Linked DNA regions of Homo sapiens: all the other regions are linked to region 4. Evidence: promoter capture Hi-C in 16 types of primary human blood cells and fetal thymus (Javierre and others, 2016). All regions are on one chromosome and are shown on one strand. Each heading gives the region's core, a stretch centred on a gene start or on the middle of the fragment in contact. The rest is flanking DNA. Distances are from core to core; before and after follow the strand shown. Region 1 overlaps PPIL4 (peptidylprolyl isomerase like 4). Region 2 overlaps KATNA1 (katanin catalytic subunit A1). Region 3 holds the start of LRP11 (LDL receptor related protein 11). Region 4 holds the start of UST-AS1 (UST antisense RNA 1).

The links. The method cuts DNA at HindIII sites, captures the fragments that hold promoters and counts their contacts. A CHiCAGO score of 5 or more calls a contact.
Region 1: a fragment that was not itself captured here is called in contact with the fragment with the promoter of UST-AS1 in region 4 in 1 of 17 cell types (total B cells); the score reaches 5.5 in total B cells.
Region 2: a contact is called between a fragment that was not itself captured here and the fragment with the promoter of UST-AS1 in region 4, in 1 of 17 cell types (activated CD4 T cells). The highest score is 5.4, in activated CD4 T cells.
Region 3: a contact is called between the fragment with the promoter of LRP11 here and the fragment with the promoter of UST-AS1 in region 4, in 4 of 17 cell types (naive CD4 T cells, activated CD4 T cells, naive CD8 T cells and 1 more). The highest score is 7.0, in naive CD4 T cells.

Annotation. Positions count from the first base shown.
Region 1 is chr6:149,523,057-149,525,756 of GRCh38, forward strand. It overlaps PPIL4 (peptidylprolyl isomerase like 4), which reads right to left. Exons shown (of 13, transcript NM_139126.4): 9 at 2,087-2,153. Among named protein-coding and RNA genes, the nearest start is that of PPIL4, 22 kb to the right of the region's middle. The HindIII fragment of the contact is 2,601 bases long and covers 1-2,577 here.
Region 2 is chr6:149,605,268-149,608,111 of GRCh38, forward strand. All of the region lies in intron 4 of KATNA1 (katanin catalytic subunit A1), which reads right to left. Among named protein-coding and RNA genes, the nearest start is that of GINM1, 40 kb to the left of the region's middle. The HindIII fragment of the contact is 3,717 bases long and covers 1-2,844 here.
Region 3 is chr6:149,862,925-149,865,624 of GRCh38, forward strand. LRP11 (LDL receptor related protein 11) reads right to left here and starts at 1,435. Exons shown (of 7, transcript NM_032832.6): 1 at 484-1,435. The coding sequence starts at 1,096. It overlaps RAET1E-LRP11 (RAET1E-LRP11 readthrough), which reads right to left. Exons shown (of 15, transcript NR_182438.1): 8 at 2,292-2,420; 9 at 1,961-2,073. RAET1E-AS1 (RAET1E antisense RNA 1) reads left to right here and starts at 574. Exons shown (of 2, transcript NR_045126.1): 1 at 574-1,458. RefSeq lists silencers at 440-589, 760-869, 1,010-1,069, 1,140-1,589 and an enhancer at 1,246-1,746. The HindIII fragment of the contact is 13,305 bases long and covers 1-2,700 here.
Region 4 is chr6:148,963,386-148,966,292 of GRCh38, forward strand. UST-AS1 (UST antisense RNA 1) reads right to left here and starts at 1,299. Exons shown (of 3, transcript NR_038408.1): 1 at 1,176-1,299. It overlaps UST (uronyl 2-sulfotransferase), which reads left to right. Exons shown (of 8, transcript NM_005715.3): 5 at 1,025-1,178. RefSeq lists enhancers at 187-763, 764-1,340. The HindIII fragment of the contact is 7,762 bases long and covers 1-2,907 here.

The sequences.
Region 1 (2,700 bases), core at 27-2,526, 560 kb after region 4:
ATATCCTCATGTCTTTGAAGTAGGAAAATATTTTTTAAATAGGCCACTAAAAAGGAAGAAAAATACTGACAACCTGAACCATTAAAATTAGAAATTTGTTTATAAAAAGACACCATTAAGAAAGGAAAAAGGCATGCCTGTGGTCCCAGTTATGCAGGAGCTAAAATTGGAGAATCACTTGAGCCCATGAGCTCAAGTCCAGCCTGGGCAACACAGAGTGATCCTGTCCCTTAAAAAACAAAAAAAAAGTAAAAGGAAATCCACAGAGAAGATATCTGTATCACACATAATCAAAAAAGAGCTTGCATCCAGAAAATATAAAGAATCCTTAGAGATCAATAAAAAAGTAAAACAGCAGGTGCAGTGGCTCAAGCCTATAATTCCAGCACTTTGGGAGGCCAAGGCAGGTGGATCACTTAAGGTCAAGAGTTCAAGACCAGCCTGGCCAACATCATAAAACCCTGTATCTACTAAAAATTCAAAAATGAGCCAGGTGTGGTGGCAAGCACCTGTAATCCCAGCTACTTGGGATGCTGAGGCATGAGAATCGCTTGAAACTGGGAGGCGGAGGTTGCAGTGAGCTGAGATCATGCGACTACACTCCAGCCTGGGTGACAAAGCAAAACTCTGTTTCAAAAAAATAAAAAGAAAAAAAAAAAAGAAGAAAATGGCATAGCTGCAAAAAACTCAAAACATGGGCAGTCATTAGTCTATGTGCTACAAATGAAATTTTATTTGTGAGAAAATAAATAATAGATTCTATAGTGTCAATGATAGAATGCTAGTGCAGGTCTACAAGTTTTCACAGCAAACCAAAGGTAAAGGTCTTTCTGCTGGCACCAATGTACCTTGTAAGTATCATTTCTGGTACATCTGACACAGTGCCTACATATAACTTTATGGTCTATCTTCCCCAACCCTCCATGATTCATCTTGTATCCCTAGGCCTTATTGCTGTGTCTGAAAACATAAAAGGTATTCCATAAATGCTTTGTAATAATTAGAACTTAGAATGAGCTACTACTGGATACATATGAGTCCAAAGTTGCATTAAAAAAGAGCATACCATAGCACAGTGTAAACTCAATGGGAACAGAATCAGACATATCTGAGTTCAAATCCCAGCTATGACATTCATTCACTAGGTGTGTGATTTTGAACAAGTCACATTAGCATTATGTGTCTCAGTTAACTTATTTGGAAAAGGGGATGGTCCCTATCTTACAGAACTGTGAGGATTAAATGCAGCAAAAGTAACATAATGCCTAGCTTAAAGTAAATATTTAAGCAACATAAGCTATCATTATTACAGCTCTAGAAGGGGCCATCTATTCTAATACCCAAGTTTTATTTATAAGAAGGTAAGACCTAGAAAGAACGGTTAACTAAACTGCCAAGTATCATACAATAGCTGGCTAATAACAAAAGATGTATTAATATCTAAATCTTAACACCCAGTTCAGTTCTCTTTCTATTACTCAACTTTATCTCCACTTAAGTAACAGGGAAAAATTAAGAGTCTCTGAAGGGCTTTACTTAGAACTTAAAAAGTTCTAAGATTGGCTGAGTGTTGTGGCTTATGCCTATAATCCCAGCACTTTGGGAGGCCGAGGCAGGTGGATTGCTTGAGGTCAGGAGTTCAAGACCAGCCTGGCCAATATGGTGAAACCCTGTCTCTACTAAAAATACAAAAAAATTAGCAGGGCATGGTGGTGGGCACCTGTAATCCCAGCTACTGGGGAGGCTGAGGCAAGAGAATCGCTTGAACCAGGAGGCGGAGGCTGCAGTGAGTCGAGACTGCGCCACTGCACTCCAGCCTGGGCAACAGAGTGAGACCCTGTCTCAAAAAAAAAAAAAGTTCTAAAGATACTTTCATGCAGATTGCACCTGAACCTAAAGTAAAAGTACGTATGTTAACATCAACAGATGTTGAACTTATCCCCTATATAGATACAATAAACTTAATTTTGGGGAGTGCCAAAAGAAAGGGCAACTCTAGAAACTAGAAAAAGTTCTATAATTTTTCACATTTTAATACCATATAAAAGCAAATAAATACCAAACTTATGTCTGTATTATGACATACCTTTTCAAATTCAATAAAAGCGTAACAGAGGGACTCTCCTGTCTTCCAGTCTCGGATAACTTCACAACTGAAAGAAAGTATTTAAAAGTGACTTAAAAAAAAAAAAAAGGAAGAAAGCATTCACTCTCACTCTTCAAAACTGAAGAAGAAATAAGTCAGTTACTACAAGGCAAAGTTAAATTCATAGATTATTTTTCCAAATTCATTTAATAACAATTCTTTTTTAAAAGTAGTTCACCAGAGCAGTAACTAAATTATCTAAATTCTACTCTAAGTGCCTTATATAGGCCTACAGTCCTAAATTCCCTTAAGCACTGAAGTAAGAATAAAAATATTTAATTTTCCTTTGGCAAAAGTAAACTACTGCTAAAGACTTTTAAAATCACAACACTTTTCTAGTCCAAATATAGTCGAATTATAGAATATCTAACATCTAACATTACTGTAGAATAATGTATGCATACTCATACATATATAAATGTTTAAGTTCAAGCTTTGAAATTTTTGAATTTTAATATAAATCAAGCTCAAATTTAACACTGTAAGCACAATGTTAATTACAGAACTAATATACCATAATAACCAAGTGAAAAGGCCAATAAGCTGAAGTTGAA
Region 2 (2,844 bases), core at 43-2,542, 640 kb after region 4:
AAAGTATCAAAGAAAAATAAAAATGACCATGCAAATGAACTGGCTAGCATAAAAAAATTAATACTGAGATAAATGTGGTCGCAAGTGAATATCAGATATACACAAAATGTATTTCAATCCTTTAGAGGAGATAAGATTAAAGACAGATGGCTTATTTAGCCAAGACTATGGCTCAATCTTTAAACACCTACTTGTCCCTCATCAATGCTCCTAAAAATATCCCTTTTCATTATTCCCACTACCCTCCAAAAGACACATCTCAGTCCTTACATGGGATTCCTCTCATCCTCTGTGATGACAGTCATTAGGGCCACGGTTCCCAAACTATGTACTCAATACCCAGGACACAATGGCAAACTCACGAGGTATTGTGGGATAGTTTAAATTTTTGAAAGAAACACAGCAACATCTGTTGAACACTGTGTGAACTACTAGCTAGAGGTAGTTCACGATTCCTACATAAGACTGCTATACTCCTCTTCAATAATGCTTTATTTATTTATTTATTTATTTATTTTTGAGCTAGAGTCTCACTCTGTCGCCCAGGCTAGAGTGTAGTAGTGTGATCTTGGCTCATTGCAACCTCCACCTCCTGGGTTCAAGCAATTCTCCTGTCTCAGCCTTCTGAGTAGGATGACAGGTGTGCACCACCACGCCCGGCTAATTATTTTTAGTGGAGATGGGGTTTCAGCACGTTGGCCATGCTAGTCTTGAACTGCTGACCTCAAGTGATCCGCCCACCTCGGCCTCCCAAAGTGCTGGGATTACAGGTGTGAGCCACTGTGTCCGGCCTGAATAATACCATATTTTTGTGAAGCTGGGTTTTGGGCAGTTGCTGTGATAAGATGTACAGAGAGAAAATCAATGTGGAAGAGGAATGAGGGTAGAATGTCCGTTCTGACTGCAGGGTTTGAGAAACTGTGTAACAGGGCCCAATAGGTGTTAAACTGCTAGAACATAAACTGTTTGAACCTAACTTCTTCATAAATGGATAGGTATTTTTCATAAGTGGATGGGTATCCTGGCCTAGAGATGCTATATAAAAATTACTAAGATACTTATGAATATTATAGGCCAAGAAAATTTATGAAGCCCTGCATTAGGGTAAATAAACATTTTTTCTGCCGTACTAAGATTGTTACCCAATTCCCATAACATTTTTTTTGCACGTAACATGATGATTCCTTTGCCAACTGGTGCTGTCTAATGCCATTATTAATGTCCAGACTTAACCAATATTTATGATATTCAAAATGTTAACCTAGATGGCCAAATAAGCATCAGTTCCACAATGTGTGTATTGAGCCTCCAATATTAGCATAAAAGATTCAAGGAAGGAACTGTGTAACTTTTTTTTTTTTTTTTTTTGAGATGGAGTTTCATTCTTGTTGCCCAGGCTGGAGTGCAGTGGCACGATCTTGGCTCACTGCAACCTCTGCTTCCCCGGTTCAAGCAATTCTCCTGCCTCAGCCTTCCGAGTAGCTGGGATTACAGACATGTACCACCATGCCTGGCTAACTTTTTATATTTTTAGTAGAGATGGGGTTTCACCATGTCAGCTAGGCTGGTCTTGAACTCCTGACCTCAGGTGATTTGCCCACCTCAGCCTCCCAAAGTGCTGGGATTACAGGGGTGAGCCACCACACCCAGCCAGAACTGTGTAACATTTAAAAGAGAAGAAGATAATCTTTTCTTCAAAGTATTTATAAAGTTGTTACTCATTTACAGATATTTAACAAGTATCTGTTCTGTGTTAGCAGCTATGGAGAACAGGAAAAGGACACTGTACCTGACTATCAGGAACATATACTGTAAGCCAGGGAAGATACAAATATAAGGCATTTTCTCTTTCTCTTTCTTTTCTCCCATAGAACACAGTACTAAGGGAATGTTCGCAGACAAAGCAAAACAAATTTAAGTAGGCAGAAGAAAGAAACAGTGTTGTAATAGGACAGCCAAAGAAAGCTGTGGAACTTCAAATGCTGACATATTTAATAGGATTTTACTTAATTAGTTGAAGTAGTACAATTTCTTTTAGATATACATCTATCTAATAATTTGCTCCTGGCCAGGTGCAGTGGCTCATGCCTATAATTCTAGCACTTAGGCTGAGGGGGGTGGATCAGTTGAGGCCAGGAGTTCGAGATCAGGCTGGCCAACATGGTGAAACCCCCTCTCTACTAAAAATACAAAAATATTAGCTGGGCATAGTGGTACATGCCTGTAGTCCCAGCTACTCAAGAGGCTGAGAGGAGAATCGCTTGAACCCAGGAGGCGGAGGTTACACTGAGCTGAGATTGCACTACTGCAGTCCAGCCTGGGCAACAGAACAAGACTCCATCTCAAATAAAAACAAACAATAACTTGTTCTAAGTGAAAACAGTAACCAGTAGGAAGTGGAAAAAAACAGTTGAGGGATTCAAAGGGACCTAGACTCCTTTTTTCATGCTCAAAATAAAGTTTCAGATAGACGGATTAATCAGGACATAAGTCCTTGGGTTTAAAACTAGTTCTTTTGCTGGGCTCAGTGGCTCACGCCTGTAATCCCAGCACTTTGGGAGGCAGAGGCAGGCAGATCACCTTAGGTCAGTAGTTCGAGACCAGCCTGGCCAACATGATGAAACCCCGTCTCTACTAACAATACAAAAATTAGCCAGGTGTGATGGTTCACACCTGTAATCCCAGCTGCTCGGGAGGCTGAGGCAGGAGAATCGCTTGAACCTGGGAGGCAGAAGCTGCAGTAAGCCAAGATCAGGCCACTGCACTCCAGCCTGGGCGACAGAGTGAGACTCCGTCTCAAAAAAACAAAAACAAAAACTAGTTCTTTTAAAGCTGGCAAAATTA
Region 3 (2,700 bases), core at 185-2,684, 900 kb after region 4:
TTTTTATAAAAGGGACCAGAAGTTTTCCTCCCATTTTTGTATGATGAAAGCCACCGCAGGCAAAGTCAGGAGAGCCACGTCAAGAAAAAGGAGTGGGTGTTACGAGAAGCCCGGCATCTAATTAGATTTTGCTCTTGCAATTACTTAACACAAACCATGCCTTATACAACCCATGAGACTAAAACAAACTTTTTTCTCTCAGCATTTCTCCCCTTTTAAGTCATATTTCCACGAATCCTCTCAGATCAGCCTTTCTCTTCAAGCCTAGAAAAATTCCAGTAGCACGTCACCGCGCCCGCCCGCCCGCTTCTGCCAAACTACTGGGCTTCCTCTTCCCTAAGACAGAGAAACCCATGCCAGAAACTCTTCTGGGTGCCCGCGGCTAAAATAACTTGGCACGAGTGTGTTTCGCTTCCAACTTGGCGAGGGCGCTGCGGGTCTCGAGCGCTCTGGCCAAGGCCGGCCCCTCAGTCGCGCGCTTACCCTGCCGGGGCGAGGCGCGCGCGGTGGCCAGGGCGGCGCCGTCCGGCGCGCGGCTGAGGCTGTAGCTGCTGTAGCCGCTGTGCAGCGCGAACTTGCAGACGTTGCGGCCGCGCGCCGTGCAGTTGAAGAGGTAGCAGCCGAGCACGGCTGCCGGGGGCGCGGGGCGCCGGGGCAGCTCCACCACGGCCACGGAGCAGCGCGGCTCGGAGCAGCAGGCCGCCACGCATTGCCGCCAGCCCCGCACGGCCGCCGGCGCCCGCAGGAAGCTGGCACCCGCCGCCAGGGAGTCCTTGGTGCGGATGATGGCGTCAGGCATTGCGCTGTAGCCGCCGCTGCCCGGGCCCGGGCAGTCCTCCTGGGGGCCGCCGCCCGCGCGCAGCTCCAGCTCCAGCTCCTCCTGAGGCCGCTCCTGCTGCAGTTGCCGGCGGAACTCCTCCAGCAGCTGCTCCACGCCCGACAGCTGCGCGTGCAGTTCGGACAGCGGCGCCGCGGGCGGCAAGGCCGCACGGCCGCTTGGCAGCCACAGGCAGAGCAGTAGCAGCCCGCGCAGCGCCCCGTGACGCGGCGGTAGCCGGCGCTGCGAGCCCGCGCTCTCCTGGGCGACGGAGGCCATGGCGACGAGAGCCAAGGGCAGCGAGCCGAGGCGGGGCTGAGCGCGGGAGGAAGGCGGGGACGCGGGCGAGCGCGGGCCCTGGGCCCCTCCTGCGCGGCCGCGGCTGGCTCTAGGCCCCGGCCTCACAGCGCGGCGCCCCCGAACCCGGCTGCTCCCCCGAGGTCGCGGGCGCCGGCGGGAACCGCAGTAGCGGGAGACATAGCCGGCCCAGCCGGGCACCGCTCCTTGCCCTCGCCGGAGACTGCCCAGCGCCCTGCGCCTCTCCGCCCCGGCCTGCGGCGCGCTGGGTGGCGACGAGTCGGCCTCGGCGTTGATCAGCACCAGGTGTGTGCGAACAGTGGCCGCGGCGGGGTGGAGCCTTGGTGAGCCCCGCCCCCCCGCGCGGCCCCGCCCCCGCGCGTCTCGCGCCGGCTCCTCCAGGGCTGGGAGAGCAGGCCCCGGGGAGGGCAGCCTCAGAACAACTTTGCTCCCGCGCCGCTGCCCAGCTAGGGCAGGGTTCATGTCTGGGCCCAGCAGGCTTTAGCAACCAACCACACCTGCCCAGGGCGCCTGCCCACAGGGGCTTGGCATTCGGGGGAATGGGGGCAGTGGGAAGGGAGGGCCTGTCTTCAAATCCTCGTGACCCCCGGGACTACTCCAGAGAGGGGGCACGCGCACCTAGGACCACCGTAGCGCGTCATCAGTCCTTCACCTCCAGCGTCCCTGACTTTCCGCATCATGTTCCCAAGATGTGCTTGGGTAGTACAAAGTGGGGCGGGGTTGGGGTGGCGGAGTCAGGGCCGGGAGGGGTGGGGATGGGAAGTACTGAAAGATGTTCAGTCTGTTTAAAAACACAAAAATCAAGCCTGGTGAGGTGGTACTCGCCTGTAAGTCCTGAGGCTGAGTTGGGAGGATGGCTTGGACCCAGGAGTTCGAGACTGCAATGAGCTGTGATCACACCACTGTACTCCAGCCTGGGGGACAGAACAAGACCCTGTCTTTAAAAATAAAAACAAAACCCATAAATAGCAGTCGTCACATGCACTCAGATTTCCACAAATATAACAAAAAATCTGAACACAGCCAACATGGGGACCTGGGAGTAATACAGCCTGTGACAGAGAGGCCTCTAGCGGTTATATCACGTAAAATCTCGGGAGTTGTGCTTTAAATGACATAAGGAATAAGAAAATGTCCAACCCAGTGGGGGCTTCACCTTGGCGTTCTAGACTTCTGTGAGCAGCATCTGCATCTTGTTTGTTTCTGAATCAGTTTCTGTTGATTCATTTTTCTCCTGATTGTGGATCGCATTTTCTTGCTTTTTAGCCTGTCCGGAAATTTTTGCCTGGATGCGCACATTGTAAATAGAACACTGTTAAGTGTCTGTATTTTTTAGGATTGAAAGAATAAATAATTGGTGGGAAAATATCAGTCTCTGCTATGTGTTTATTATCTCCAGAGTTGACATTTAGGAACCCATTGCTTGCAGATCCAGATCAGAGTAGGAGGTAAAATTAAAAGGTAGCAATAGAAAAGAAAGAAAAAAGCTCAATGTTACTTGCCATTCCATCAAAGGGAGAAATTATAAAGTTTTTGCAGGGGTATATTTGAGTGATTTTTGAGGC
Region 4 (2,907 bases), core at 49-2,548:
TCCCCGAACTCCTCAAGGCTACTGCTTTCAAGCAGTTCAAAGAGAAAAAGAAGGAATCATTAAGAGAAATCCAGCCAATCTCATCACTCTGCTTCGGGAAGACCTTGTTCTTGGGCCAAGATTTAGTGGATTCATCTAATCCTTTCATGGAAGGAATTAAAATGGAACACCTGGCTATTTGCTTTATTTTTATCTGAAGCCACTTGCCATCACTTGAGGATAATTATGTTGAATTTTGTTTCATTCTTGATATCCCACACAAAATTTCCTCAACTCCAGAAATCACTTTTCCATAATTAAGAGCATAGATTCTAGAGCCAGATTGCCTGGACCCATATCCTAGTTCAGCTACAAGTTATGAACCTTATTCCTGCCTCAGTTTCCCCAAGTGTAAATGAGGATAATTATTTTTTCTACTCCATTGACGTGTTATGGGGCTTCAGCAAGCTGGTTACATGAGGTATTTAGAACAAGGTGAATAGCGAGTGCTCAGTGAAGACTGGCTGTTATTCACTCCCTTACTGCAGAGCACCTGACCCGGAACTGTTTGAATTACAATATAGAGGAAGTGCCGTCTCACCCAGCAAGGCAGTCAGAACCTACCAATCAACTGAAACATTCACCGAGGGCCAATTGTGTCCCTGTGGGTTCTGTTCTAGCCATTGGAAATACTAAATCCAATACAGAGTGGCCCCCATCCTCAAGAAACCTACAGCCTGGTGAGAAAACTAGACACCATCTCTTCCTTAACATGCACAATGGTGTGGTTTGTACCGTGCTATACTATGAAATGTCCTCACAGCCCCTCAACAGGTACCTGGAACAGGTATCATCCTCCCCACTTCCTGCATGATAATAAAATGCTTATCAGGAAACACCGTTTGCTTATTACGTGTCATTGGCACCTTAGCATAGGAGGTCATCTTTCAATAAGTTAACCTAGAGGGAAGGGGAGATGTTGTCTAAGTAGGCCCTGTTTTCGTCCTGCAGTGATGGGTTGTAACGAACTCAATGTTTGTGTTAGGTTTGGAGGAGACCAGCCTGTCTACATCAACATCATTAGAGACCCCGTCAACCGGTTCTTATCCAACTATTTTTTCCGTCGCTTTGGAGACTGGAGAGGGGAACAAAATCACATGATCCGCACCCCCAGCATGAGGCAGGAGGAGCGCTACCTGGTAAGTCCTGTCGCATGCAAAAGGCGGTCTCCCCACTGCCTGAGGAGTGGGCCCTCCACCAGGGAAGGTTCACTCTTCCCTTCCCAGGCCTTCTCCTTGGCGCCTCCATGGAGCGTGGCGCAGAGAGGGTGCTTCCGCAGGAAGGAGGTCTTGGCGAGAGAAACTGGTTCCGGGTGACCCAGATCCTAATGAACATTTCCTCAAATTATTTTCTGATTTTGCTTTGCTCAGTTGTCTTTAGTGCTAGGTTTTGGGACCCAGAGCGTTAACAGTCTTTCCTAAGGAGTCCTGACTAGCACTGTAGTGCTTAAGAAGAACAAAGGTGTTGGGGGGGTGTCTGTTAGAGGGCGGCAGAGCCCCTTCTCATCCCTCAGCCCATTCAGTTCCCATGACCACTCTGGGAGGGGGAGGTGTTTTCAGATGAGGACCCTGAGATTCTAAAGGTTGTGGGATTTGCCACAGTCACCTCTCAGGTAAGGGCGCAACTGCGACCGACTGTTTCGGGTTTCCTGCCTTCACAGTCTGGGTTCTTTCCACCACAGCGCGATAGAACCCTGTCATTGCACCAGTAATTGTTTGCTTTCTCTGGACTTGTTTTGGGACCCTCAGCTCCATAAGGGATGTTAGTCTCGAGCCCAGTAATTATTTCCGCAGCACAGAGGTTGGTAACAAAAACGGAGGGCGGAGTTGCGCGTCTTTCTTTCAGCACTAGAACGAAAGGTACATTTCCCATCCCTGTGTTGAGAAACATGTACTGAGGAGCTGACAGCCTGGTGCCCAGGAGGCTGAAATCCTGGTCTCTGTGTCTGAGAGAGCCCTTGGGGTTCACCCGGACCCATCCTGGGCTGTTGTCGGGCACAAGCAGGAAAGTAGGAAGTGTTGAGGATCAGTCAGAGGTGTTGTTCCCAAAGCTGGAAGATCGCCCAGAGCTGAGGCCACTGCTGATGTGCCGTCAGCAGCAGCCTTGCCGCTGGAGAAAAGCACCGAATCTCAGGGCCACGGCCAGGACGGCTGCTTCCTCATCTCATTTTAAAAACATAATGGAAGTGGATGTTCAGAGGCTGGGAGCATTTGGGGATGATGTCCCCTCAGTGTCACGTTCATGTTTTCAAATCCATGATTAGAGTAGAGAAAACTGAGATACAGAGAAGTTAGTGTCTCAGCCAGGGCCAGACGACTACACCAGACCCACGGCTTTCCACTCACCTTCGGTATTTGATCAACTACCTAAGGCTTCAGTGAAATATTTTGATGATTTTATTTTTATTTTTATTTTCTTCCTTTGATGATATATTTTAAAAGTGGCTTTTCCCTTTTTTTTTTTTTTTTTTTTTAGTTTTTATGGCGAAACCCTAATCTATTTCTTTATAGGTTATGAGGCCGGGCGCAGTGGCTCACGCCTGTAATCCCAGCACTTTGGGAGGCCGAGGCAGGTGCATCACTTGAGGCCAGGAGATCGAGACCAGCCTGGCCAACATGGTGAAAACCTGTCTTTATTAAAAATACAAAAATTAGCCGAGCATGGTGGCGCATGCCTGTGATCCCAGCGAATTGGGAGGCTGAGGCAGGAGAATCCTTTGAATCCGGGAGGCAGAGGTTGCAGTGAGCCAAGATCGTGCTACTGCACTCCAGCCTAGGTGCCAGACCGAGACTCCATCTCAAAAAATAATAATAATAATAATTAAATAAAATAAAAAACTATAGGTTATGAATATGACTATATGTTTTT